Linked DNA regions of Homo sapiens: regions 2, 3, 4, 5, 6 and 7 are each linked to region 1. Evidence: promoter capture Hi-C in 16 types of primary human blood cells and fetal thymus (Javierre and others, 2016). All regions are on one chromosome and are shown on one strand. The core of a region is centred on a gene start or on the middle of the fragment in contact, and the rest is flanking DNA. Distances in the headings are between cores, read along the strand shown. Region 1 holds the start of TAFA4 (TAFA chemokine like family member 4). Region 2 overlaps LOC124909391 (a long non-coding RNA gene). Region 3 has its middle 100 kb from the start of KBTBD8. Region 4 has its middle 110 kb from the start of MIR4272. Region 5 has its middle 92 kb from the start of MIR4272. Region 6 has its middle 53 kb from the start of MIR4272. Region 7 has its middle 8.5 kb from the start of MIR4272.

Region 1 (3,596 bases), core at 377-2,876:
TAAAAAAATCCAAGGCCTTCCTGAACTGGGCTCTGACACAAACTGCCCCCACCTCTTCCCTCCTCAGCGAGTGTTCTAGAGGGGGCCAAACGAAGATGCGTGTGATTAGGAAGCTAGGCCATCAGTGTGCACAAGTTTGGGTGACCGAGTCTGCAGGTGGCAGCTACGAGTTATGGTGGACAAGCTTTATGCCAAGGATATTAGAGACAGAAACAGACCAAAGCTTCGAAGGCGCCCATCCCCACACACGGGGATCGCCTGTCACATCACATCAACCTTGCTTGTCTCAGAGGGAAGACCATTGAAAAGTTAAAAGGGAAAAGAGTTCAGGGATAAAGACGTTAAACCAAAGGGGGGTCCCTGAATCTCGGTGACGGGGGATGGGCACCAGGCTAGGTCTCGGCGAGTCCGTGAACCCGTGCATGTACATACTGCTTAGGAGCTGATTCACAGCTTTACTAAGGCTCCGTGGAGCCCCTAAACGTTAAATGATGCTGATTCGAGAAGAAAACGCACCAGCGGCACTGTGTCTGGCTTGGGCAGCCTCACCAGGTGCAGGAGATCAAGCTTTCCAGTTCCAATCCTCTCCCGAGCTCCTTGCGTAGGGTCAAGGATGCCCTCTCTTCTAGGAGCGGATTAACAGGGCAAAGTGGGAAAAAGAGCGAAAGAAATGTAGAGATGCCACCTTGGTGGGCAAATCTGAGATGCCTCCCGCGGAAAGAGACGCAACTTCCAGACCCGCTCCAGTTCTCCACTTGGGCGGGAAGCTTTGCGCTCCCAGCTGGAAGACGCCTCCCGAGCGCTCGCTGCGCCCTTCAAGCAAGATCCTAGCAACCAGAGCTTCAGGGTGGGGGTGGGGGCGGGGGGACGCTGACCGGCTCCCACCTGCTTGCTCCTAGAAAGATCCTAGCTCAGATTAAAGGGATGAAGCGCTAAGGTCGACTTGTCCAGAAAAGAGCTCACGGTGAGTTCACCACCCCCTATACCAATTCATCGAGTGGCCTCCTCCGCATCAGCAGAGCACCCCCGGGGATTCTGTCAGACATGAACCCCGAAACTGGAAGCGGCCGCTGCCTCTCTCCAGCCACACATCCTTACTTCGGAGTGCCCCTTCCAACTTCGGGTTGCACGCCGACCTCAGCACAGGCACTCTCCCCGGCGCCCCAGAGAGCCGGGATGAGGGGAGCTGCACCGAGCTGAGTTAACTCGGTACCAGCCGAGAGGCAGCGGCTGCCCACGAGACAGCACCTAAATACAGGGTCCAAATCCACCCCCACCCCATCCTCTCGCCCCTCCTTATCCCTTCCAACCCTTCTTACTCGACTAGAGCCGGCATCCAAGTCGGACCGGCGCGTCCGGAACTAGGTACTGATCGCCGCACCGGAGCCCGAGGACGCTCACCGTGCCGCCTCCCCGCGGGAGCCCCGGGAGCGGCCCATCACCTCTGCAGCCTCGCCAGGAGAAGAAAAGTTCCCACGTCTCTACCAGGAGAAGCCCGAAGCTCCTGCGGGAGAAGCCTGAAGCTGCTGCTGGAGAAGCGGCAGCTGAGGCAGGACTCCCGATGTTTGCCCGCAGCCGCGCGCGCAGTCGGTGCGCCCCGTCCAGGGCGGCGCGCAGCTAGCAGTGCGGAGCCGAGCCCAGCTAGCGCGCTGACCAGGAGGGGCCGGGCCCGCCGCGGAACGCGCTGATTGGCCGGGCCGCCCGGCTGCTCCTGTCCCTGCCTGGCCCCGCGGTCCACGTGGGCCGGCCTTCTCCCCGCCCCGCACCCCTGCTCAGGCGGCGCGCCCCCACTGCCGGCCTCCAGGCGCCTCTCCCGAGCGCCTCGCTGTGGCCACCACTCCGCAGGTGCTGAGCAAAAGGTATTCTTCCTGAATACCTGAGAGTCGCGTTGAGCTCCACATAAGGAAGACGGATTTAGGGTTCGGCTCTCACTCGAAACCATTCTCCACGCAGGACCCAAAGCGGTTTGCAAGCAGGATTTCTTAGCCACCCCGTGCAGTAGCACATTCATGAACTAATCTGGCTTCGCGTGTAATGTGCTTGTATGAGAGAGGAGAAAACTCGGCCCACGTATGAATACCTAAATACTTTTCTTTTTTAATGTATAAAATACAGCTGGGGCCGGGCTCGGTTGCTCACGCCTGTAATCCCAGCACTTTGGGAGGCTGAGGCGGGTGGATCATGAGGTCGGGAGATCGAGACCATCCTGACTAACACGGTGAAACCCCGTCTCTACTAAAAATACAAAAATTAGCCAGGCGTGGTGGCGGGTGCTTGTAGTCCCAGCTACTCGGGAGGCTGAGGCAGGAGAATGGCGTGAACCGGGGAGGCGGAGCTTGCAGTGAGCCGAGATCGCACCACTGCACTCCAGCCTGGTCGACAGAGCGAGACTTCGTCTCAAAAAAAAAAAAAAAAAAAAAAAAAATTCAGCTAAGACTTCTTTGACTCCCTCCTCCCACCCCATTCCTAGTCATGCCCTCCACTCTTCCGCAAGTGAAGTAACTGATAATCAGTGTCACTTAATGGTATTCATTTTACTGGGATTAGTTCATCTGATCTCTATTTTATAGATGAGATAACTGAAGCACAGAGAAGTTAAATCGTTTACTGAAGATTACACAGGTAACTAGTAAATCCATGCTCTTTAGTATGCAAAGCATGGCGTCGTAGAGCGGTCCCTTGAGAACACTTTAGAACTGCAGACTTTCAGGCCCCACCCCAGAAGTAGAATCTTCATTTTAACAAGATGCCCAAGTGGCTGGTGCATGCATAAAGTTAGAAAACGTTGCTCTGTACCACTATGCTGCTCACTGTCATTGGCTTGGCTTATCATCTTCTGGTCCTTTTACTCTGCATTGACATACAATTATGTGCCATCCTGCCCCTGCTGCACTCCAAAGTATGTTCACCCTTCTCTGACTCTACCCCTTGAACTAACGTATGGCAGGCCTTCTGCTTCTGTTCCCCGTACCACACATACCATAGCACATTTTACTTGTTAAACAGTTTCAATCTCTTACTCTCTTATTATTAAAATGGGGGTTCTACATTCAAAGGCAATTTGTTATCAAGATGTCACCAGTTTAAGAGAGAATTCAAGCTTTGGAGATAGGCGCTTGATCTTTGAGATTTCCTTTAAAGACTAGCATTGAAGTTCTGTGACGGCCAAAGGGGAGATCCAAGCAAAACCTGAAATAGCATGCCAGGAGATTCCAGAGCTCTTTCTCAACAGCATTCATTCATTCATTCACTCACTCAGCAAAACTGAGGGCCTACTCTGTGTCAGGCGCTGTAACAAGTGCTGGTACATAGAGAAGGAAACACAACAGTGAAAAGTTCCTGAGTTCATGGAACTTATCTTCTAGTAGGGAGAGATGGGCAATTAACATGACAAATAAGTGAATTACAGAGTTTGATAGAAAGTGGTCAGTGTTATAGAGAGAAAGAAAGTAACAGAAAAGAAGGTGAGTACTGGGGAGATGGTGGTTTTAAGAACAGTAGTTAGGCTAGTTCCCACTGAGAAGGTAATATCTGAACCAAGACTTGGAAGAAGTGAGGGAGCAAGTCATTTAGAAGAACAAGTCCACATTCATTTG
Region 2 (3,596 bases), core at 818-3,317, 1.9 Mb before region 1:
GATCTTGGACCTCCCAGCCTCCAGAACCATGAGAAATAAATTTATGTTGTATGTAAATTATCCAGTCTGTGGTATTTTGTGACAGCAGCACAAATAAACTAAGACAGATGGAAAGCAGATATAGGTGATGCAGCATTCAGCCATCTGCTGCTTTGTGAGATGCAAAGTCACTCACCCAAGTGGCCTCTCCCTTGAAAACCTGTACAGAACACAGGTATTCCAGAGTAGAATGAGGAATAGATAAGGACATTTCCAATGGTTCCTGCTCATCTTTTGCCTTTTCATGGGCCAAAGTTTGCCTCAGAGGCAGCTATTTTGTCCACACCTCTCTATTGTGGCACTCGGTACCTTTTCAAATTTTATTTTCCGTTTCCTTTCTATCCTCTCCTTTTTAAGGCATAATTTACACATATATTTGACTGCTTGAAGTTCCCCATAGTTCACTGATATCCTTTTTAATCTTTAGAGCTGTTTATCTCTCTATGATTTATTTTGGACAATTTCTATTTGCTATGACTTCAAGTTAACTAACCTTTCGTTCTGCAATATCTAAGCTATAGTTGTTTTCCTATCCAGTGTATTTTGCATCTCAGACACTGTAGTTTTCATCCCTGGAAGTTTGATTTGTATCTTTTCATGTCTTTCATGTCCCCACTTAACATATTCAATCTTTCCTCTAGCTTCTGGAGTATATGGAGTAGTTAAATAACAGTTTTAAGGTCCTTGTCTAGTACTTTTATCACTTGTAGCATTTCTAGATGAGTTTCTATTGATTTTTCTCCTATGGGTTACATTTTTCTGCTTTTTTGCAAGCTTGGTAATTTTTTGTTGGATGCCAGATATTATGAATTTTAGCTTATTGGGTATTAGATTATTTCTTTTTTATTTTTTTGAGACAGGGTTTTGCTCTGTCACCCAGGCTAAAGTGCAGTGGTGTGATCACATTTCACTGCAGCCTTGACCTCTTGGGCACAAGTGATCCTCCTGCGTCAGTCTCTCAAGTAGCTGGGCCCACAGGTGTATGCCACCACGCCTGGCTAATTTTTGTATTTTTTCTAGAGACAGGGTTTCACCACGTTGCTCAGGCTGATCTCAAACTCCTGAGCTCAAGCAATCTGCCTGCCTTGGCCTCCCAAAATACTGGTATTACAGGTGTGAGCCACCATGCCCAGCCAGGTGCTGGATCGATCCATCCTTCCTTCCTTCCTTCCTTCCTTCCTTCCTTCCTTCCTTCCCTCCCTCCCTCCCTCCTTCCTTCCTTCCTTCCTTGGAGTCTCGCTCTGTCACCAGACTGGAGTGCAGTGGCGCGATCTCAGTTCACTGCAATCTCTGCCTCCCGGGTTCAAGCGATTTTCCTGCCTCAGCCTCCTGAGTAGCTGGGATTACAGGCACACACCACCACGCCAAGCTAATTTTTGTATTTTTAGTAGAGACGGGGTTTCACCATGTTGGGCAGGGTGGTCTCCATCTCCTGACCTCGTGATCCGCCAACCTCGGACTCCCAAAGTGCTGGGATTACAGGGGCGAGCCACTGCGCCCAGCCTGGATTATTTCCTTCTAAAACTATTCTCCAGCTTTGTTTTGAAACAAGGTTAAGTTGCTTTGAAACACTGTGGCCCTTTCAGGTCTTGCTTTTAAGCTTTGTTAGTGAGGACTAGAGCAGTGTTTGGTCTAGGGTTAATTTTCTTCACTACTGAGGTGCTCTAACTGAGTCTTTAAGTTCTCCATATGTTTTCACCTACTCCCCAAAAAGCATGTAGTATGACTGGCTTAGGTATCTGTGCATGGGCTCCCCAAGATCATCCCCAAGGTTCATGATTTGCTAGGAGAACTCACAGGACTCTCTATATGCTGTACTCACTGTGAAGATTTATTACAGCAACAAGATAGAAATCAAAATCAACAAAGGAAAAGGGCACTTGGGGTGAAATCTGAAACAAACTGGGTGCAGGTGCTCAAAGACATCTCCAAGTGGAGTCACACAGGATGTGCTTAATTCTCCCAGCAACAAGTCAGGACAACATGTGTGAAATATTGTCTACCAGGGAAGCTCATTACAAACTAAGTGCCCAGGGGTATTCTTGGGGTCTGGTCTTGTGGGCAGCTTCTGTCTGCCGTATACCTAGATTTCAGACTCCCCAAGAGAAAGCAGGTGTTTAAAAATAAAGCACATTATTTGTATGAGTAGTTTAGGCACAATGAACCAGTCTTATCGGGGAACAGTTGTAACTCTCACGAAGTCCAGGAGCAGCCTTGAAAGCAGGTATTTGCAAGTTATCACAGCAGTTCCAGCCCTGTTATAATAGCTCTTCTGCACAGTGCCGATCCCTTAAGTTTCCTTAGCACCTTATATTTCTCCTATAAACCCACTGTTCAACTGCCTGTCTCCCACAGATGGTAAACTCTTTTCTCTGTGAGAAAAGAAGGCAAACTCTGAGCCCGTGAGAAAAGAAGAAACTATACTTCACTCAATATTGCGCCTCCTGTACCTAGCCTAAAGCTTGGCATAAAGTGGATGGTCAAAAATACTTGTTAAATGAAGATAAAGGATTAATATTGTGAGACCATATAAAACTCTTAAGATTATAAAGATACATGGGCAAAGGACATAAAGAAATCAATATTCACTAATAAGCAAATCATCTGATTTTAAAAATTAGGAGTTCTTTCTAATGTATTAAAGTGACAAGGGTCAAATAAATATTAATATACGAAGTTAAGGATATGGATAAATGGTAACTGTTATCCATTGCCGAAAATAATATGTAAGTTATAAATGACTGATTTAGTAATGTATATCAAGAATTTAAAATGTTCATTACCATGTCTCGGGAAATTCCACTTATAATAATTTATCATATAAAACATTAAGAGATAAAAAAAGAAAAAAGATATAAAGATGTTAATTGCAGCATTATTTAAAATGGTATGTATGTGCTAACACTACAAATGTCCAATGATAGAAGGTTAAATAAATTAAAAGATATAAATACAATGAGATATTAAGAAGTAAACCATAGATTGCTTTCAATAAATACTTTATGAGGACATGTAAAAACACCACAATGCAATAAGTGAAAAACTCAAGATATCAGTCAATATATTTTGTTCCAAATTATGTGTATATATGTGTATATTTACATATAAGATATGTATTATTAAAACTACAATAAAGTTGGGAAATATATATGTTAAATAATATTAACTACTTGTGAAGAGTTTAATCATGGGGTCACTGTTCTTTTCTTATTTTTCTTTTTAAGTGCTTTTCAAATGGGTGTTTTTGTAATAAGGATACACATATGTATACTTGCATACATATACATTCATACAAATGAACATGTATTTCCTAATTTGTTTCATTATTTCATTATTGAATAATAACTACTGTGGGGAGAGGAATCTCAAATTAAATATCATATGTGAAGCACACAAATAAAAAAAATTATACTTGTCATTAGGAGAGGACCAATTCTCATCAGAGACATTTGGGGGAACTCACTAAGTCTTAGTTGGTACTTATCCAGTACTACTCACCATTATCAATATTTTATTTAAAAATATACTTCTGAACATGTAATTGTTTCATTTCAGAA
Region 3 (3,596 bases), core at 511-3,010, 1.8 Mb before region 1:
AGGTGGTTATCTGCAATCCAGGAGGACAGCCCTCACTAGAAACCAAATGAGCTGGAGCCAAGTTGTCTTGGACTTCCAGCCTCTGGAACTATAAGAAAATAAATTTCTGTTGCTTAAGACACCAAGTCTATGGTAGTTCGTTATGGCAGCCCAAGCAGCAATATAGTGTTGAAAGAAAGAAACACCAATCCAGAATTCTATATACAGTGAAATTATCCATCAAAAGTGAAGAAGAAAGACTTCATCAGATAAACAAAAACGGAGATAATTTACCAAAAGTCCTGTCCTGCAGGCAATGTTAAAGTAAGTTTTTTGGGTAGAAGAAAAATGATATAGGTAAGAAACTTGAACTATGTAAAAACAAGGAATAGCATTGGAGAAGAAATCAATGAAGGCAAAATAAAATATTGTATTTTTATTATTTTAAATTAATCTAAAAGACAAGTATGTATTGAAAGTAATAATAACAATAATATACCGGGTGATTACAGGATATGGATAAGTGAATTAATGGCAGCAATGGCACAAGAGGGAGGGATTGGAAATATCCTATTTATATGTGCCTGCATTACATGTGAAACAGTACAGTGTTATTTGATGGTGAGCTTCTATTAAGTTAAAATGTATATTGTAAATTTGGGGCAACCATCAAAAAATTCTTAAATGTAGTTGATATACTAAGAAAGGAGATAAAATAAGATTATGTAAAATGCTCATTTGAAACAGAGTAGGCAGAAAAATGAGAGCACTAGGAAGGGAATAAAAAACAAATTCAATAAATAGAAAACAGACACATAGTAGATGATAACCCAACCACATAAACAATGAATTTAAATTGGAATGTTCTGCAAACACTAATTAAAAAGAGATTGTTACAGTGGACATAAAAACAAGTTCCAACTATATGTTGTGTACAAGACACCCGCATTATGTATAAAGACTCAGGCTGAAAGAAAATAAATGGAAAAAGATATGCCAACCTAATATCGATCAAAAGAAAGTTGGAGCAGCTAAATTAATTTCAGACAAGGCAGCTTTGAAAACAGGAATGGTTATCAGGGGCAAAGATGAGCATTATTATAATTGTAAAGGGGGCAATTCTTCAAAAACATCATGACAATTTAAGATGTATATGCACCTACAAAGAGAATACCAAAATACATGGGGCAAAAACTGAATAACTGTAAAGAGAAACAAATAAATCCACTATCATAGTTGGAGATTTCAACATTTCTCCATTGGTAAGTGATACACTAAGCAGACAGAAAGTCATAAGATTCTAAATGATCTGAACAGCACCATCAATCAACTTGGTCTAATTGATATTTTATAGCATAATCCATCCAACAACAGCAGATGCTTCTCAAGTTCACATGGAGCATTCACCAAGATAAACCACATCCTCAAGCATAAAACATACCTGAATAAATTTAAAAGAATAGAATTTATACAAAATGTGTCCTGAGACCACAAGAGAATCAGACTCGAAATCAATAACAGAACGTTATATCTGAAAATTAAACAATACACTTTTAAATAAACCATGGGTCAAAGAAGAGGTCTCACTGAAAATTTTAAAATATTTTTAATTAAATGAAAAGGAAAATACAACTTATGAAAACACATGGGACACAGAGGAAGTAGTTCTTAGAGGGGCATTTATGGCACTAAATGTACATATTCAAAAACAAGAATCATCAAAATTCTGTATACTAAAGTTCTGCTATGGAAAACTGAGCAAAAAAGAGCAACTTAAATTTAAAGCAAGCAGAATAAAAGAAATAATAAAAATTAAAATAAAAATCAATAAAAGTAAAAACACAAAAGAAAAAATCAATGGAATTTAAAAACTGGCTCTTTGAAAAGATCAATAAAATTGACAAACTTCTAGCCAGGCTAACCATTAAAAAAGAAAAACAAGAAGACACAAGTTGCAACATTAGACATGAACATAAGTTCATCACTATTGATCCATTGGATATCTACAGGATAATAAAAGAATACTATAAACAGACAGCTCTATGACCACTGTGATAATTTAGATTAAACAGCAATTTCTTGAAGGACACAAACTTTCAAAATGCACAGAAATAGATAACCAGCATAGCCCTATGTCTATTTAATAATTCAAATCAATAATTAATACCTTTCTAACGAAGAAAGCTAGACTTAGATGTGTTAACTGGTGAATTCTAACAAACATTTAAGGTAGAAATTATACCAATTCTCCACAATCTCTTCTAGGAAACAGAAGCAGAGGGAACACTTCTGAAATATCCTAGGAATCTAGTATCACTCCAATATCAAAAGCATTTCAAGAGAGATAAAATATACATGAATATATTTCATGAAGAAAAATGCAAAAATCTTCAAGAAAATATTACCAAATGTAATACAACAATGTATAAAAAATTATACATCAACATTAAGTTGGATTTATTCCAAGTATGCAAAGCTGATTCAACATTAAAAAGTCAGTCAATGTAACCCACTGTATCAATAGGCTAAAGAAGAAAGGTTATATCATCATATCAACTGATGCTAAAAAGCCATTCAGCAAAATGGAACATAGTCATTTAAAAAGCTATCAGAAAACTAAGAATAGAGAGAAACTTCCTCCACTTAATCAAAAACATATACAAAATAGCTACAGATAACATCATACTTAATGGTGAGAGACTGGACACTTTCCTCTAAGACTGGAAACAAGGCAAGGATCTCCCCTCAACACTCCTATTTAATGTCATACTGGAAGTCCTAGCTAGTTCAATGAGACACGCAAAAGAAATAAAATGTATACAAATTAGGAAGGAAGAAATAGAATGGTCTTTATTTGCAGATGATACAATCATCTATGTAGAAAAACTGAAAGAATAAACAAAAAGCTAACAGAACTAATAAGTGAGCATAGCAAGTTTGCAGGATGAAAGGTTAAGATAGAGTTAATTGTTGTCTTATGTATTAGTAGCTAACAATTGGAATTTGAAATTTAAAAAGATACTATTTACAGTGGTACACCCACAAAAATAAATACTTGGTATAAATTTAACAACACGTTTATTGACTTGTATGCAAAATACTATAAAATTCTGATTTAAAAAAATCAAAGAAGGTATAGATAGAGAGATCTTCCATGTTCCCGGATTGGAAGACTCAATGTTATTAAGATGGCAATTATTTCCAACTTTATCTATAGATTCAACATAATTCTACTCAAAATTCCAGCAAGAAATTTTACACATATTGACAAACTGATTCTAAAGTTTACGTGACAAAAAAACTTAGAATAGCTAAAACAATAGTAAAGAAGAACATGGAGGAATCACAACGCCTAACTTTAAGACTTTCTAAAAGCTAGAAATCAAGATAACATAGTATCGGAAAAAGAATAGACACACAGATCAATAAAACAGAAAAAGACTTACACAAATGTAGTCAATTGCTCTTTGACAAATATGCAAAGGTAATTCAATGGAGAAAAGACAGTCTTTTCAACAATTAGTGTGGGAACAATTGGATGTCTCTCTATAAAAAATAAAAATAGACACAAATCTTACACATTTCCCAAAAGTTATCTCAAAATGTTTGTAGACCTA
Region 4 (3,596 bases), core at 309-2,808, 1.8 Mb before region 1:
AGTCATTTAGATTTGGGGTCATTTACTACCTCAGCACAACCTGGGATATCCTAAATGATGTTAGGCTGCTGCTCTCAAAACAATCTACAATGGTGGAATCGATGCATGGATGCAAACAGGTAAACAATCATGCAAACTGCAGCATAAATGCTATAAGAGATGTGGGAGTGAAGTGCTTTTTGGCAGGAATCAAAGTAATAAATTTGTGATGAACTTGAAAAGGTCAATATGCACCTATCTGCTAACAAAATATCTGGTGAGGCTACAATGTGGAACTCCATTTCAAGCAGAGGAAGACACCATCTGAGGGAGACACAGCAATGCCACAGAACGTGGAAAATGTAAGACTTGGGGAAGGGGGATGGTTTATAATCCCACTGTAACTTGGAAGGAACATTGAGAAATAGAAAATAGAGTGACATTATATTCTAATGACCCAGTGACAATAACAGTCTTACTAGTGTGCCAGCTCAGGTCATATATTGTGTAATATATGGCTTCATTTCCACTTTTGACCAATAGCTACACACAAGAGGTGGTAAAACCCCGTATAATTTGGTCAAAACAATATTGGGCTGGAAATCAGAACCTCTGGCTGCTAATATGGGGTATATCAATCATGAGAGGAAATCTGAACATATTTTTTTCTCTAGACCTCCATTACCTTATTGATAAAATGAATGGAAAAAACCTAGATTATTTCTGATCCATTCTATCTCTAAGATTGTGTTTCCTACACTTGAAATGTAACATTTGAAATCTTCATTGTTTGCGTGAAAAGATTCCACCTGGGAAATAAAACCAGGCTATTGACTTGTTATAAATGGAGAGCTATTTGATTGCATCATAAACTGTAATAGATCCTGTGGAAGTGGGGAAGCTACTCCTGTCTCCTTGGAATTAGTGCACCCTCAAATTCCAATGGCCTGAGGGCTTTCTCTGGTGGCCAGAGGCTCCTTGGCCCCATTGAATAGGTTGGAAATCCAGAGAATAATTCCTCTTGGAAGCAGCCATGAACAATGACTATTGTAAGTTGGTAGACAAATGTCCAAGTTCTCTACTCTACAGGTAGGATAATTCTGAAGTTGGACATCCTCAGGATTCCCCAGCAGGACTGAGTTTCCATTACTCACATGACAACTGGTTTGACAATGTACATTTTACTGGCTACCTCCCCTTTCCTGTGTCACTACTCATTCATCTACTGGGATTTTCTAGATTCACCTCTGAAATAAAACATCTGCACTCGAATTCTTGTCTCAAGACCTGCTTCTAGAGAACCCTAAGACATATACTAATACACAGGTGAAAATACAACTACACTCCACTGTCAATAATTTTTAGGATTGGTTTAAATGTACTTCCTACACTTGGGTGCAAGTAAAATCACATTTTCAATTAATTAAATCTGGCTTTGGGCTGGGCGCAGTGGCTCATGCCTGTAATCCCAGCACTTTGGGAGGCCAAGGCAGGCAGATCACCTGAGGCCAGGAGATCGAGACCAGCCTGGAAATTATGGGGAAACCCTGTCTCTACTAAAAATACAAAAATTAGCTGGGCATGGTGGCACACAACTGTAATCTCAGCTACTTGGGATGCTGAGGTAGGAGAATTGCTTGAACCCGGGAGGTGGAGGTTGCAGTGAGCCGAGATCATGGCACTACACTGCAGCCTGGGTGACAGAGCAAGACTCCATCTCAAAAAAAAAAAATCTGGCTTTGAACCCTAACCTCAATGCTCATTGTTCAGACTCTCATAATGATTCAAAGGTGAACAACTCTACTCCCTCTATGCCAAACTGGGGCATGGAGATTTTTGCAGTTGTTCACAAATATGTAAAATCTAATGTGCAGTCTCTACCATAGATGTGTTGCCTCACTGTGGCCCTATGACCTCCTTGACATGCTGGAAACCCATTATTTCCTTCTTCTATGGAAAGCCCCATTTTGGTTTAAGGCACTCCACCTTGTCCTCCTCTAACTTCCAGTGCTGGTAGCCATCTTCTCTGACTTTGAAGGTCTGAAACATGAAAACGAAATCTTTCATGTCTGAATGTGTGAGTTTGGGTTGCGTGTGTGTGTGTGTGTGTGTGTGTGTGAGAGAGAGAGAGAGAGAGAGAGAGACAGACAGACAGAGAGAGAGAGAGAGAGAATGTGTCAGAGAAAAACAAAACAGAAAGGATAACTTAATTTTCTCCTGAAAACCCAACAATGTTCTCTCTTTCTGAATAGGGAAAATAAAATGCTTTATTCCCCACTACAATTCCCCAAAAGAAATGAAACTAGTGTTGAGATGTGTGCAGCTGTTATTGCTGTTAAAATAACTCATCCTATATCACCTTGTGAAAGTTTGAACTTCATGTGCCTAGGAACTGGCAGGGATAGATAAAAAGGAAAAGGCAAACAGGCATTTTCTCCTTTTAAGATAGAAGACTTTTAAATATTACTTTTGCATAAGAGGGGCTCAAATCTTCATCTTCAAGATGTGGCACTCCCTTAGGTATTTAAGTTGTGCATAGGTTGTCTATTTCTCTATATACTAGTCTTGGAAGAGATTACCACTTATATAGTGGCAGAGGTAAAATCGGTCAGGTACTTTTAGTGGCCAGACCACTCTCTGAGAATAATTTTCTTAGTAGATGTAACTAGGATTTGAGACTAGCCCTAGTAAATGATATGGCCATTTTAATAAGCAAGCTGGATACCAATTCTCTTCAGATGTATGAAAAGAAACCCTCTTGGGGCAAAAAAAGAGTTCTAATATGGAGAGATTTCATTTTCAATGACGTAACCTCTTTTCTCTTTGCACTGTCATACATAGCTTCCATGTAGAGTCAAAATGTTAAATATTTGAAAAAGGGAGAATTTATATACCTGAACAAGGGTAGTCAGTTCTGTTAATGAGAGCAGGCTGCTAATGATGTCAGAGTCACAACTTTGATCTGTATCTGATTTATTAATTTCCAGTTTATCTATACCTTTATTTTCTCCTATCAACCCCCTGCCGACCATCTGCCTAACGCTTTCAAAGGGGTGACTAGTTATTTGTCTGGCTATCAATCCAAATATCACCACAAAAAAATCAAAACAAAACCCTTAAAACAACCTATTCTGCTAAGGATGGAACAGGAAATAAGTGAGTAGCCACAATATTTTTCATTGGAAAGATGAGGTTATAAGTGATTTGCTTACTGGTAAGGCGAATCATGCAATTCCACTGAGTTACTTATGAACACAATCTGATCCTAGTTGTCATGGCAACATACAAAAAAAAGTGGAAAGAGTTCACGATTACATTTTCTTGAAATGATCCAAAATATTAACTGTAAGTATGTGAATTCTGTAGAAAATGTTATTTAAACTTTTTCTTGGAATCTCGGAGCTGCTGCTGGATTCCAAGAGATGTCTGCCTGCAGCTGTTCAACCATTATAATCCCCCTCTGTGATGAAAGCAGAAAAGCAATGAAGATTTGAAGAAAATAGAAGTCTTGCTTCACCCTCAGGACATCTTTCTCTAACACCCCCCTCCATTAATATACAAGGCGTGAAACATTAAATGTCACATCCATGTCATACTCTAATGCCACTGCACTGTAG
Region 5 (3,596 bases), core at 750-3,249, 1.8 Mb before region 1:
ATATTACCATGGAACATTTGTCAAAACTAAGAAACTGACACTGATACATTACTATTAACTCAACTCCAGACTTTATTTGGATTTCACCAGTTTTTCCAATGACGTCCCCTTTCTGTTCCAGAATCCTATCCAGGGTACCACCTAGCATTTAGTTGTCATGTCTCCCCATCTCTACTGGTCTGTGGCAGTTTCTCAGTCTTTCCTGTTTTTCATTACCTTGGCAGCCTTGATGAACACTGGCCAGGTATTTATAGAAAGTCCCCCAGTGTGAGTTTGTCTGATATTTTTCTGGTGATTACACCGGGAATGTGGATTTTTGGAACAAATGCCACCAAGATGAAGTGGTCTTCTCATTGCATCATATCAGGGGCTAAAATTCTTCTCTTTAAAACCAGAAAAATGGACAATTCTCACACATCAGGATTTGTAGGTAAAGATTCATCGTTGTCATTTAAACATTCTTATACAAAAGAAGTTCAGACCAGTGTCACCTAAGAGAATCATAACCCTAAGCATTGTAATTGAAGGAGAATTCAGCAGCTCTTGCCTTTCCTCTAGGAGAATTCAGCAGCTCTTGCCTTTCTTTTAGGTTAGTCAATATTTCCATCAAGACTCCTAACAGACCTTCTTCTGTGTTCTGCTGTGATTCTGGGACTTGTTTAAATACCGATTTCTTAAGTATTTGAGGAAGTCTTTTGAAATCTTGTTTAAAATCAACTTCCTTGCTCTCTATACTTTTCATACCCCTTTTGGCTAAATATAATTAGTTTTATTTGAATCTTCATGTTTTTTTTTAAATACATAAACCAAGAGCATACGGTTCCAGGGGCTCAAACCAGCATTCTCTCATGGTGGTTTCTAGCTTACAGGAACTCATTCATAATAACATATCTAGACTGGGTTTTAATAGTGTGGAATAAATTTAGAATTCATAATAAGAACCATGAGAAGGACAATTATCAAGGTTATTAAAAACAATTATTTCTTACCTCATTTTCACTACAACTTTCAGCCCTCAGCACATCCAGGTCACCATGTAGGCATTAATCAAAATGTTTCCTCTAGCACTGCTGGAAATTTTGACCCATGGATAATGATTGATGGTCCCTTCCCAGGGATTGGATGGCTGTTCTCTAGAGAGGCTGGACATCTGACCCGGGCAGAGAGCATTCACAAGGCATTCACAACTCTCCCACAGCAGGTGTACATCTGTTCCACCAGGATGACATCCTCCTCTCTTTGTCACAGTTACTTACTCTTATAAAAGAGTTCTTGGATGTTGACATTCTTCTCCTTCTTTGAACAAATAGAAATCTAGAGACTTCACAGAATAGATGTTGGCTTTTTAATGATTATTTTAGATAGAAATGTTCTGCTGGTCAACAAATGCTAAGACTGATGTTCTTTAAATACACATGTTCTGGTGTGTAATGATGGAGTTATTAGAGTAAAAGGGGTTCAAGAGATTGCAGATACCTTTATCTTAGCTCTGTCCCACAGAGCAATGGTTCAGTATACTACTGGTTAGTTTGGGAACAAGGCTACCATCGTTTTGTTTTTCTCAGCCAAACAAGAACTTACACAACACTCTAACCTTTTCTATGTTGGAAGTAGGAAGATTTCCATTTGCTCCACAGTGGCGTCTTTACCATAAATATCTTTCCCATTACTTATGTTTTCATTCACAGAGAATAGTTTGATAATGTTCTAAAGGAGAAAAACATAAGGAATGTGTGTATGGTTAAAACACCCAACAGATATCAAAATGCAAGTTTCATTGCAGTCAGGCCCATGTGAGTCAGGCTAGCTCTGGGCAGAGGTAGGTAGAAACAAATCTGAAGAACAGGGAGGAGATAACTATACCAGTGAATCAACCTTTAATTGTAGGCTGACTGTAGATAATGAATCAGTTAACCTGTTCATTTCCACAAATGCAAATCCTATGCTACATAAGTTTGGCTTTTACCAATGGGTCTGCCAAGTACAATTTAGGTTGAACCACTAACACAAAGATAAAATAAAAATTCACATTTAATTTTGTTTTCTAAGGATGTGGAAGGAACTGTATGGTCCATGCTCAAGCACAAGTTATAATTGTCCATTATGTCACTTTCATTAATATGGGCCAATAGAGCTAGAATGTAACACCTATGCAGCATCAGCAACGCAGTAAAAGTATCTCCTGAAGGACAAGATCTGAATCTGGTAGGATCAATGTTTTCCTCACTAACTTTGCCACTTTTGAGGTTTTCAGGACTATTCCTTGCAAGCTAAGGAAATAGGAGGAGTGTCGAGATCAAAGTCGACTCTCCCAAGTTTCTCTCTCTTTTTTTTTGAGACGGAGTCTCACTCTGTTGCCCAGGCTGGAGTGCAGTGGTGTGATCTCGGCTCGCTGCAACCTCCGCCTCCCTAGTTCAAGCGATTCTCCTGCCTCAGCCTCCTGAGCAGCTGGGATTACAGGCATGTGCCACGACGCCTGGCTGATTTTTGTATTTTTAGTAGAGACATGGTTTCATCATGTTGGCCAGGCTGGTCTCGAACTGCTGACCTTATGATCAGCCGGCCTTGGCCTCCCAAGGGGCTGGGATTACAGGCATGAGCTACCACGCCCGGCCCTCTTGTTTAATACTATTGATACGTTATTCAAAAAGAGCAAAATGCTGAGGCTTGAGGTCACTTGAGGTCAGGAGTTTGAGACCAGCCTGGCCAACATGGTGAAACTCTGTCTCTACTAAGAATACAAAAATTGGCTGAGTGTGCTGGTACATGCCTGTAATCCCAGTTACTCAGGAGGCTGAGGCAGGAGAATCGCTTGAACCCAGGAGTTGGAGGTTGCAGTGAGCTGAGATCGCGCCACTGCACTAAAAGTGGCAAGCTGATCAGAGAAATGTTGTAAAATGCCCTGATTATGGCCCACTTCAATGCTACAATGCTTTATATGCATTATCCCCATTTTAGAGACAAAGAAACCAAGGTGTAGGAAGGTAGAATCACTTGCCCAAAGTGACAGTTAGTAAGTGGTGAAGTCAGAATTCAAACCCAGAGAATTTGATGCTGGCACCCAAGTGCTTAGTATGCATCTTTCTCCCTTTCTTTTCTGATCTAGAAAAGATTGCTAAGATAAAATGTTTGAGATAAACCTAGATTAAAATCATTGATAGGAAAGAAAACCAGTCATGAAATAATCAGGCGTTAGAAAGTTGGGTCATAAATTAACTTGCCAGCACTGAGTAGTAACAGAATTAATTGTCTCAGTCTACTTGACTTTAGCTATGTGTTGAAACCAGTCATTTTCCTTAATGATACTTGCAATTTGCTCCCTATCTTCTTGCAATTAGAAGTTACTTTCAGATCAACTGTGTCAGGCACACAGGCTCCTCTTTTACTATAAAATACCAGGACAACAACTTTAGGAGCTTTTGGAGCCACAGTTAAGATTGGGCAAAAAGAACTGACTTCAGCTCATGAGCTGGCTTTTATCTGTGTGAGAAGAATGAAGGACAGGGTTGGGAGACTTACATTGCTTTTCCTTTCACTGTCTTCATTGGAATCTATTAATTCATTAATTCTAGCCTCCTCTCTGGAATTACACTTTT
Region 6 (3,596 bases), core at 592-3,091, 1.8 Mb before region 1:
ATTTCAGCATGTTTAACATTCTTGGACTCTGGGCATTAAATATCATTTGCAACTCCTTCAAATTTTGTGACTAAAATATGCTTTCCATGTGTACCAAAAGCTGCCTTTTGAGGGTGGGAGACTTAATACTATCTCCAGTTAAGAACCATAGCTCACTAATCAGAATGACTCTCCAATACGTTTTCTTGTTCAGGTTACAAACGGACTTCCGTCAAAGGGATACGTGGGTATGAATTGGAAGAATCTGAGTGGAAATGCAACACTGATATTTTGGATCTCCAGAATTTGCCTATAAGAAGAGTCATTTATTCAGGAGGTCCTGAATTTGCTTATAAGAAGAGTCATTCTCTGCAGAGAATGCAAAAGATGAGTCAAGGGATGATTCTGCAATATAATTGGAGGATGTAAAGCAATTGCAAAAATAATTCTGTCTCATGGAATACTGAATGTCTCTAGGAAATACCAACCAATATTGGAGTTCTGAAAAAGTGATAATGAGCAGTATACTGTAGGGAACTAGGAAAGACTACTTGACAAAGATAGTATTTGAGATCATAGATAAGTGCTTTGGGCCAAAAGAATTGTTACTTTCTCAGTTTAGTTGAAAGCAAATAATGATACTGTGCTCATTTTTATAGACAACAATAGCACACATGTATGTGGATGAAAATGAGCGATACAGACTAATTATGAGTGAAAGAAATCCTTGCAGAACTAACAATCCAGTGTTGTCCAAAACAAACCAATGGACAAAGTATTTGAAAATGCTAGTACCATCCTAACATCCCAATTGTTTTGAGCAAATTCTTATTGATAGAGATCTCTGGGCCTGCTTATCAACCAGTGAGTAACTCCAATAGTCAATAAACAAATGCTGCCTCCCTCATTAGGGATGGATATAGATGGAAATAGAATTTCAGAAGAGTTGACAGACAAGCCAAATATTGTCAACTTTCAAATTTGTCATGTTGCCCCTAGTTCGAGCCTCACTGTCCAAATCCCAGAGAAAGAGATGGTGGGATGTGAGGAATGGAGATAATCTGTGTCTCTTTGGGATGTTTTGGGGTCTACTTAAGGCCAGCATGACAAACATGTATAGTGACAACCCTAATCAATTGTTCATGGCTGTCTGAAAGGGTTGGTGAGGCTACAGTGAGCAATAAAAAATTGCCATCAGTAATTGGCCATAATTACCTTGAACAAGTGGCAACTTGTGATAGGCAACAGTTTCTATACAGTGGTAAAACATGTCTTATACTGTTCCAGAGGGTATATGATTTAATCAACAGTACAATTGAAGCTGTATTGTATTGGGGCACTTAATATTAGAATTTTGCTAAAATATTTGATTTCTATTTAGACACACAGATCTCTAAAAGATAGTTTTCTGTCTTGATTACATGTTCTTCACTTCATTCTGAATCAGATTGGAAATAATAAGTTGTGCTTTATATGCTTGGTAGCTCATTCATTCATTCACAAATTCAGCCAGTCAGCCACTGTCCTAGTTATCTATTGCTGGGTAACACATGACTTCAAAATTTGGTGGATTGAAACAACAACAATTATGTCATTATCTCTTCCAGTTTCTGTGGGTCAGGAATCTTGGAAGGACTCAGCTAGGTGGCTCAGCTCAGGTTCCCTTTGTGGTTTCAAGTCATATGGTGGCTGGGAGAGTGTGGGGCTGAAGCAGCTGGGGGCTGGATGGGCAGCTTACTGTCTTCATGTAGTTCCTGGGCCTCTGCACATGGGTTAATCTGGACTCCAAAGGTAAGATGTACCACCTTTTATGACCTAGCTTTTGAAGTTACGCAATACACGTTGAGCATCCCTAATTTGAAAATCTGAAATCCAACATGCTCCCAAGTCTGAATTTTTTGACTGCTGACATGAAGCCACAAGTGGAGAATTTCACACTTGACCCCATGTGACAGGCTGCAAGTCACAGTGCAGGAGCATAACAAGCAGTTTATTCTGTGCTTCCAAGGGAACAAAGACCCTTGGAGCCCTCCTCAGCTGTGATGTACATTTGTTGCACATGTTCAGATTCTCCCATGCAAGCAACCAGACTGTCCACATAGGTGGTTGCTAGTGACATATTTACCTTCTGATGGCTCAGTGTATACAATCTTAGTTTCATGCAAAAAAATATTTAAAATATGATATGAAATACCTTCAGGCTATGTATATAAACTGTATATAAACCATAAATGAATTTTATGTTTAGGCTTGTGTCCCATCTCCAAGATATCTCATTATGTATATGAAAATATTCCACACTCCAAAAAAAACACTAAAAATCCAAAACACTTCTGTCCCAAGAATTTCAGAATAGGGATACTTAGCCTGTATCACTTCTACTACACACTACTGATTATAAGCTAGTTATAAGACTACCCACCCAGGTTGGAGAAGAAGGGAAGTAGTCTGCACCTCTTTATGGGGATGTGACTAGGGTTTTAGAAAACATATGGGATAGGAGATGATGTTGCTATCTTGGAAAAATATGATCAGCTGATTAGCCAGAGTCACAAACATTTGTTGGGAGCCTTTTATGTGCTAGGCTGCACATACTCTGGGAATACAGTGAAGAGGAGGGACAATGTCCTTGCTCCTGAGTGGCATATATTCTACTGAGGATGAGTGAGGAGATAAACAAGAGGTAAATACACAGGAAAGACAAGATTGAATTGTGGTAAGTGCTATGAAGAATGTTAAACAAAACAGAATAACTGGGGTTTGGAGAGCTTCTTTAGATAAGGTGGTCAGGACAGGTCTCTCTCTCTCTCTTTTTTTTTTTTGCTTCAGTGTCTATTTTATTTATTTATTTATTTATTTATTTATTTATTTATTTATTTATTATACTTTAAGTTCTGGGGTACATGTGCAGAACATGCAGGTTTGTTATATAGGTATACATGTGCTATGTTGGTTTGCTGCACCCATCAACTCGTCATTTACATTAGGTATTTCTCCTAATGCTATCCCTCTTCAAGGCCCCCACCCCATGATGGCCCTGGTATGTGATGTTACCTTCCCTGTGTCCATGTGTTCTCATTGTTCAACTCCCACTTATGAGAACACGTGGTGTTTGATTTTGTTCATGTGTTACTTTGCTGAGAATGATGGTTTCCAGTTTCATCCATGTCCCTGCAAAGGACATGAACTCATCCGTTTTTATGGCTGCATAGTAGTCCATGGTGTATATGTGCAACATTTTCTTTATCTAGTCTATCATTGATAGGCATTTGGCTTGGTTCCAAGTCTTTGCTCTTGTGAACAGTGCTGCAATAAACATACATGTGCATGCGTCTTTATAGAATGATTTATAATTCTTTGGGTATATACCTAGTAATGGGATTGCTGGGTCAAATGGTATTTCTAGTTCTAGATCCCTGAGGAGTTGCCACACTGTCTTCCACAATGATTGAACTAATTTACACTTCTACCAACAGTGTAAAATTGTTCCTATTTCTCCACATCCTCTCCAGCATCTGTTGTTTCCTGACTTTTTGATGATCGCCATTCTAACTGGTGTGAGATGGTATCTCATTGTGGTTTTGATTTGCATTTCTCTAATGGATAGGTCACTTTTA
Region 7 (3,596 bases), core at 369-2,868, 1.7 Mb before region 1:
CAGAGGCCAAAGAAGAGACCCAGAGCCAGTGAAAGAGACTAGGATTTATTGAAGGAACTTACATACAGGTTGGTGCAGTGGCAGTGGGCTGGACAGGAGAACCATTACCATTTGTAAAAAGCATGCAGTTTATACAGATCAGGTGCGTCTGCATTCTCAGGGTATGCTTATGTTATTGCTATCAGGTGCATCTTCCATAAGGGTCACTGTCAGGGTATGCTTAAGTTACATTACTGCTATCAGGTGTGTCTGCCATACATACTCCCATGATACATGGTTGACTGCTGCCTCTGCTTAAACTAAGGTTGGCAAGCTCAGCTATCTTCAGGGGCAAGGAAGGCCAGATCAGTGAGTGAAATGGAGCTCAGTCTAAAACAACAGGGAGTAGTGAGGTCTGATAAGAACCAAAAAGCTAATGCCCCAGCTGTGCAGCTCCAGGCAATTGTTAAAATGCAGGATAAGGGCGGTGTGTAAGTGTGGGGTGTGTGTGTGTTTCTGTGTGTTTGTGTGTGCGAGAGAGAGAGAGCATGCACGAGAGCAAGAGCAGGAGTGCACAAGCAAGCATCTCAATTAAAAATTTTTTAAACATCAACGATTAAGAAAATACTGAATAGGCAAACAGTACCCATGCATATGTAAGTGACAGTCCATAAGCTACCAGCTTGTAGCTCTGGCTTATGCAGATAACAGGGAGCATACCTCACAAACCACATATTGCATGGAACAGCTATTTTTATATATTCATTTCTTTTTAACTGAATGGGTAAATAATACCCAACCATATGGTGTGTCCCATTCTTTCTTATTTAATACACTTTTATTTATCACCTACTATGCTCCAGGTCCCCTCCTCAACCAAGGGATACAAAAAAATCTGTTGGGATAACTTAGGGAATAAGACAAACTTTCTCATGGAAAGTTCATTTTACCTAATGAAGGATAACTCTGCTGTCCTTATACCTAAATCTTCTCTTTCTAGATTAAACAGCTCTGTTGTCTCTAACCCTTCCTAAAGTGGCAGGTTTTCCTTTTCATTTTCAGTTTAATATCCTTCTTAAAATGTGGTAAAACAGGTACAAACTACTAGTCATGGAGCCCCTTTCTGAATGTGTTTCAGTTCATAAGTTTTGTTAAATAATTTGCTGAACATATGCAAATGTTTTGCTGTTCGGTATACCTACCACCCCTTTATGGTTTATCTGGGTTTTGGTGTGAACACATATCTTCATTTCTAAGAATCCTAGGATATAAAGTGCTCCACGGACATCTCTGCACCCAGCAACTACAATTTGTTTTCATATTCTTCGTAACTTAATGGCACACCGTACATGCATAGCCAAGCTTATTTGCTCTTCCTGTGCATGCATTTCCAAAGGTCACGGATTTCATGCTGAAGTGCTACATGATATAAGCATTTCCAGGAGCACTTGAGGAAAATAACATTAATTGCCTGCAACTTTAATTGGTTTTATGACAGTAGCCAGGCCAGTGGCTGGGAAAAGACACCCCAGAACAGCTGTCAAATACACAACCTGGCAGAAAGGCATCAAATGCCACGAGCCCTTTCTGCACAGAACTGACATTTGAGAGGCCCACACAGGCCAAGTGATCAGAAAAATCTGCCTCCATGTAATGATTTTTCAAATCCACTTAATTTAAAATGATTTCCGTGGAGCATGCAAAACATGCCACATTTCAGCTCTGGCTGGCAATAGCTGCACTTGGAGTACCAAATTCTAAAACTACTAGTCATTAGGTGAGTGTTTAGGAATGTACACAATGATTATGCCGCAATTACATTATTTATTCAGCCTTTGCTAGGCGCGTATTTTTGTAATTAGAGATTATTTAGGGAGGACCACATGGAAATCAACAATCTCGATCTGCCAAGAATAACAAGCTTTAGCAATCATATATGTATCCTCAAATGATTGTCCTGTTTCTCTCCATCAGTAATCAGGCGTGAGCTCTGTCCCTTATCCTAGTATTTTATCTCCTGTCTGTATGAGATAAAAAAGCACAAGCCTGTAAGGATTGCAAATATTGATGGTCAGTTATCACTGCTCAGGATGTGTAGAGCTAAAAGAAAACCAGGTTGAGAATCGCGAGATCGGGGTCTATTCCTAAATTCTGCTGCTTAATATTGACTGAGTGATTGAGCCATCAAAATGATCTGCAGGGAGATTTAAATGCATATATAGAAGCAAGTTGAAAAATATGAAGCACTATGCAAAAGTATTGTGATACTATGATTATTGTAGCTCTGTTTCCTAGAAATCCCTACTATAAGATCTTAAATAGTTACAACCTGTCTTTCATCATGTTCTTTTTTCTTTTTTTTTTTTTTAAACAAGAACTACAGGATCAGTTATCTAAAGCCACTTATACTTCTATTTCAATTTCTTCACTCTCTCCTATAGCTTGCTAACTACAGATCAATGGGCTAGATTGAGCATATGGAGATGTTTAAATTGACTTGCTATGTTTTGGTTTTGTTTTTTAGATTGCCTTGTTGTCCACATTTTATATTTGAGATATTTCATACGGATATTTCCATTTGCAGTTTTCATATCAAAATCTAGATGTTGTACTTCTCTTGAAAAACAGGATGACCTGACAACATTGATTTGCATCCTCCACAGCTGCAATTGCTGGACCTGAGAGCAGCTTCCCAGAGGGTAAGTTCTTGTCACATCCCCAGGCTGTCCACCTGGCCTGCCTCACTCATTTATGTTTCTGGCTGAACCCCATAGGCACTTAGATTTCAACTCTCACTCTTCCCAATTCTTTTGTTTCAGAGAGATAAGTCTCTAAAGTACCAAAAATGATGGAAGCTAGAATATTAAAAAGAAGCCAGAAGCCTCAATAACCAACATATTGTACATTAAGAAATAAGAAAAGAGATATCAAACAGTTACTGTGAGAAGCAGCAAAGTGGTTAAAAGTATAAGTAAAATAATAAAGCAGTATCAAATCATAGCCACAGTTCGTACTGGCTTAGGAGAATTACTTAAGCTTTCTGGGCCTCAGTTTCCTCTTCTGGAATATGGGAATAACACTTGTTTTTAGAATTAATTTAAATAAGTTTTTTTTTTTGAGACAGTCTTACTCTGTCACTCAGGCTGGAGTGCAATAGTGCCATCATGGGTCACTGCAGTCTCAACCTCCTGGGCTCATGCGATCCTCCCAACTCAGCCTCCTGAATAGCTGAGACCACAGGCGTGCACCACTATGCTCAGCTAATTTTTTATTTTTTATTTTTTTTGTAGAGATGAGGTCTCACTATGATGCTCAGGCTGGTCTAAACTCCTAGGCTCAAGCGATCCTCCCCATTCAACCTCCAAACATGCTGGGATTACAGATGTGAGCCACTGCGCCTGACCTAGATAAGTATTTTTTAAGCACTCACAATGTATCATGAATTCTTCTAGGTACTGGTAATGCAGCAATAATCCAAACAAAGCCTGTAATCATGTGGTTTACATTAAATGAGAGAATCCATGTTAAGCACTTAGAACAAAGCCTGGTACATAATAAACACTCAATACATATTAGCAATTATGTTATTCATAACATATTGTCTATTCAATAGTGAT

Evidence for each region. The method cuts DNA at HindIII sites, captures the fragments that hold promoters and counts their contacts. A CHiCAGO score of 5 or more calls a contact.
Region 2: a contact is called between a fragment that was not itself captured here and the fragment with the promoter of TAFA4 in region 1, in 8 of 17 cell types (M2 macrophages, M0 macrophages, total CD4 T cells and 5 more). The highest score is 9.5, in M2 macrophages.
Region 3: a contact is called between a fragment that was not itself captured here and the fragment with the promoter of TAFA4 in region 1, in 8 of 17 cell types (M2 macrophages, total CD4 T cells, total CD8 T cells and 5 more). The highest score is 8.9, in M2 macrophages.
Region 4: a fragment that was not itself captured here is called in contact with the fragment with the promoter of TAFA4 in region 1 in 9 of 17 cell types (naive CD8 T cells, activated CD4 T cells, M2 macrophages and 6 more); the score reaches 9.7 in naive CD8 T cells.
Region 5: a contact is called between a fragment that was not itself captured here and the fragment with the promoter of TAFA4 in region 1, in 8 of 17 cell types (naive CD8 T cells, naive CD4 T cells, total CD4 T cells and 5 more). The highest score is 12.3, in naive CD8 T cells.
Region 6: a fragment that was not itself captured here is called in contact with the fragment with the promoter of TAFA4 in region 1 in 4 of 17 cell types (total CD4 T cells, non-activated CD4 T cells, activated CD4 T cells and 1 more); the score reaches 8.7 in total CD4 T cells.
Region 7: a fragment that was not itself captured here is called in contact with the fragment with the promoter of TAFA4 in region 1 in 1 of 17 cell types (endothelial precursors); the score reaches 5.7 in endothelial precursors.

What each region holds. Positions count from the first base shown.
Region 1 is chr3:68,930,921-68,934,516 of GRCh38, forward strand. TAFA4 (TAFA chemokine like family member 4) reads right to left here and starts at 1,627. Exons shown (of 6, transcript NM_182522.5): 1 at 1,320-1,627. The HindIII fragment of the contact is 2,333 bases long and covers 766-3,098 here.
Region 2 is chr3:67,078,173-67,081,768 of GRCh38, forward strand. LOC124909391 (a long non-coding RNA gene) reads left to right here. Exons shown (of 2, transcript XR_007095954.1): 2 at 1-57. Among named protein-coding and RNA genes, the nearest start is that of KBTBD8, 82 kb to the left of the region's middle. The HindIII fragment of the contact is 861 bases long and covers 1,638-2,498 here.
Region 3 is chr3:67,098,862-67,102,457 of GRCh38, forward strand. No RefSeq gene overlaps it. Among named protein-coding and RNA genes, the nearest start is that of KBTBD8, 100 kb to the left of the region's middle. The HindIII fragment of the contact is 4,626 bases long and covers 1-3,596 here.
Region 4 is chr3:67,115,522-67,119,117 of GRCh38, forward strand. No RefSeq gene overlaps it. Among named protein-coding and RNA genes, the nearest start is that of MIR4272, 110 kb to the right of the region's middle. The HindIII fragment of the contact is 6,876 bases long and covers 1-3,596 here.
Region 5 is chr3:67,131,242-67,134,837 of GRCh38, forward strand. No RefSeq gene overlaps it. Among named protein-coding and RNA genes, the nearest start is that of MIR4272, 92 kb to the right of the region's middle. The HindIII fragment of the contact is 5,179 bases long and covers 1-3,596 here.
Region 6 is chr3:67,170,235-67,173,830 of GRCh38, forward strand. No RefSeq gene overlaps it. Among named protein-coding and RNA genes, the nearest start is that of MIR4272, 53 kb to the right of the region's middle. The HindIII fragment of the contact is 9,105 bases long and covers 1-3,596 here.
Region 7 is chr3:67,232,166-67,235,761 of GRCh38, forward strand. No RefSeq gene overlaps it. Among named protein-coding and RNA genes, the nearest start is that of MIR4272, 8.5 kb to the left of the region's middle. The HindIII fragment of the contact is 559 bases long and covers 1,340-1,898 here.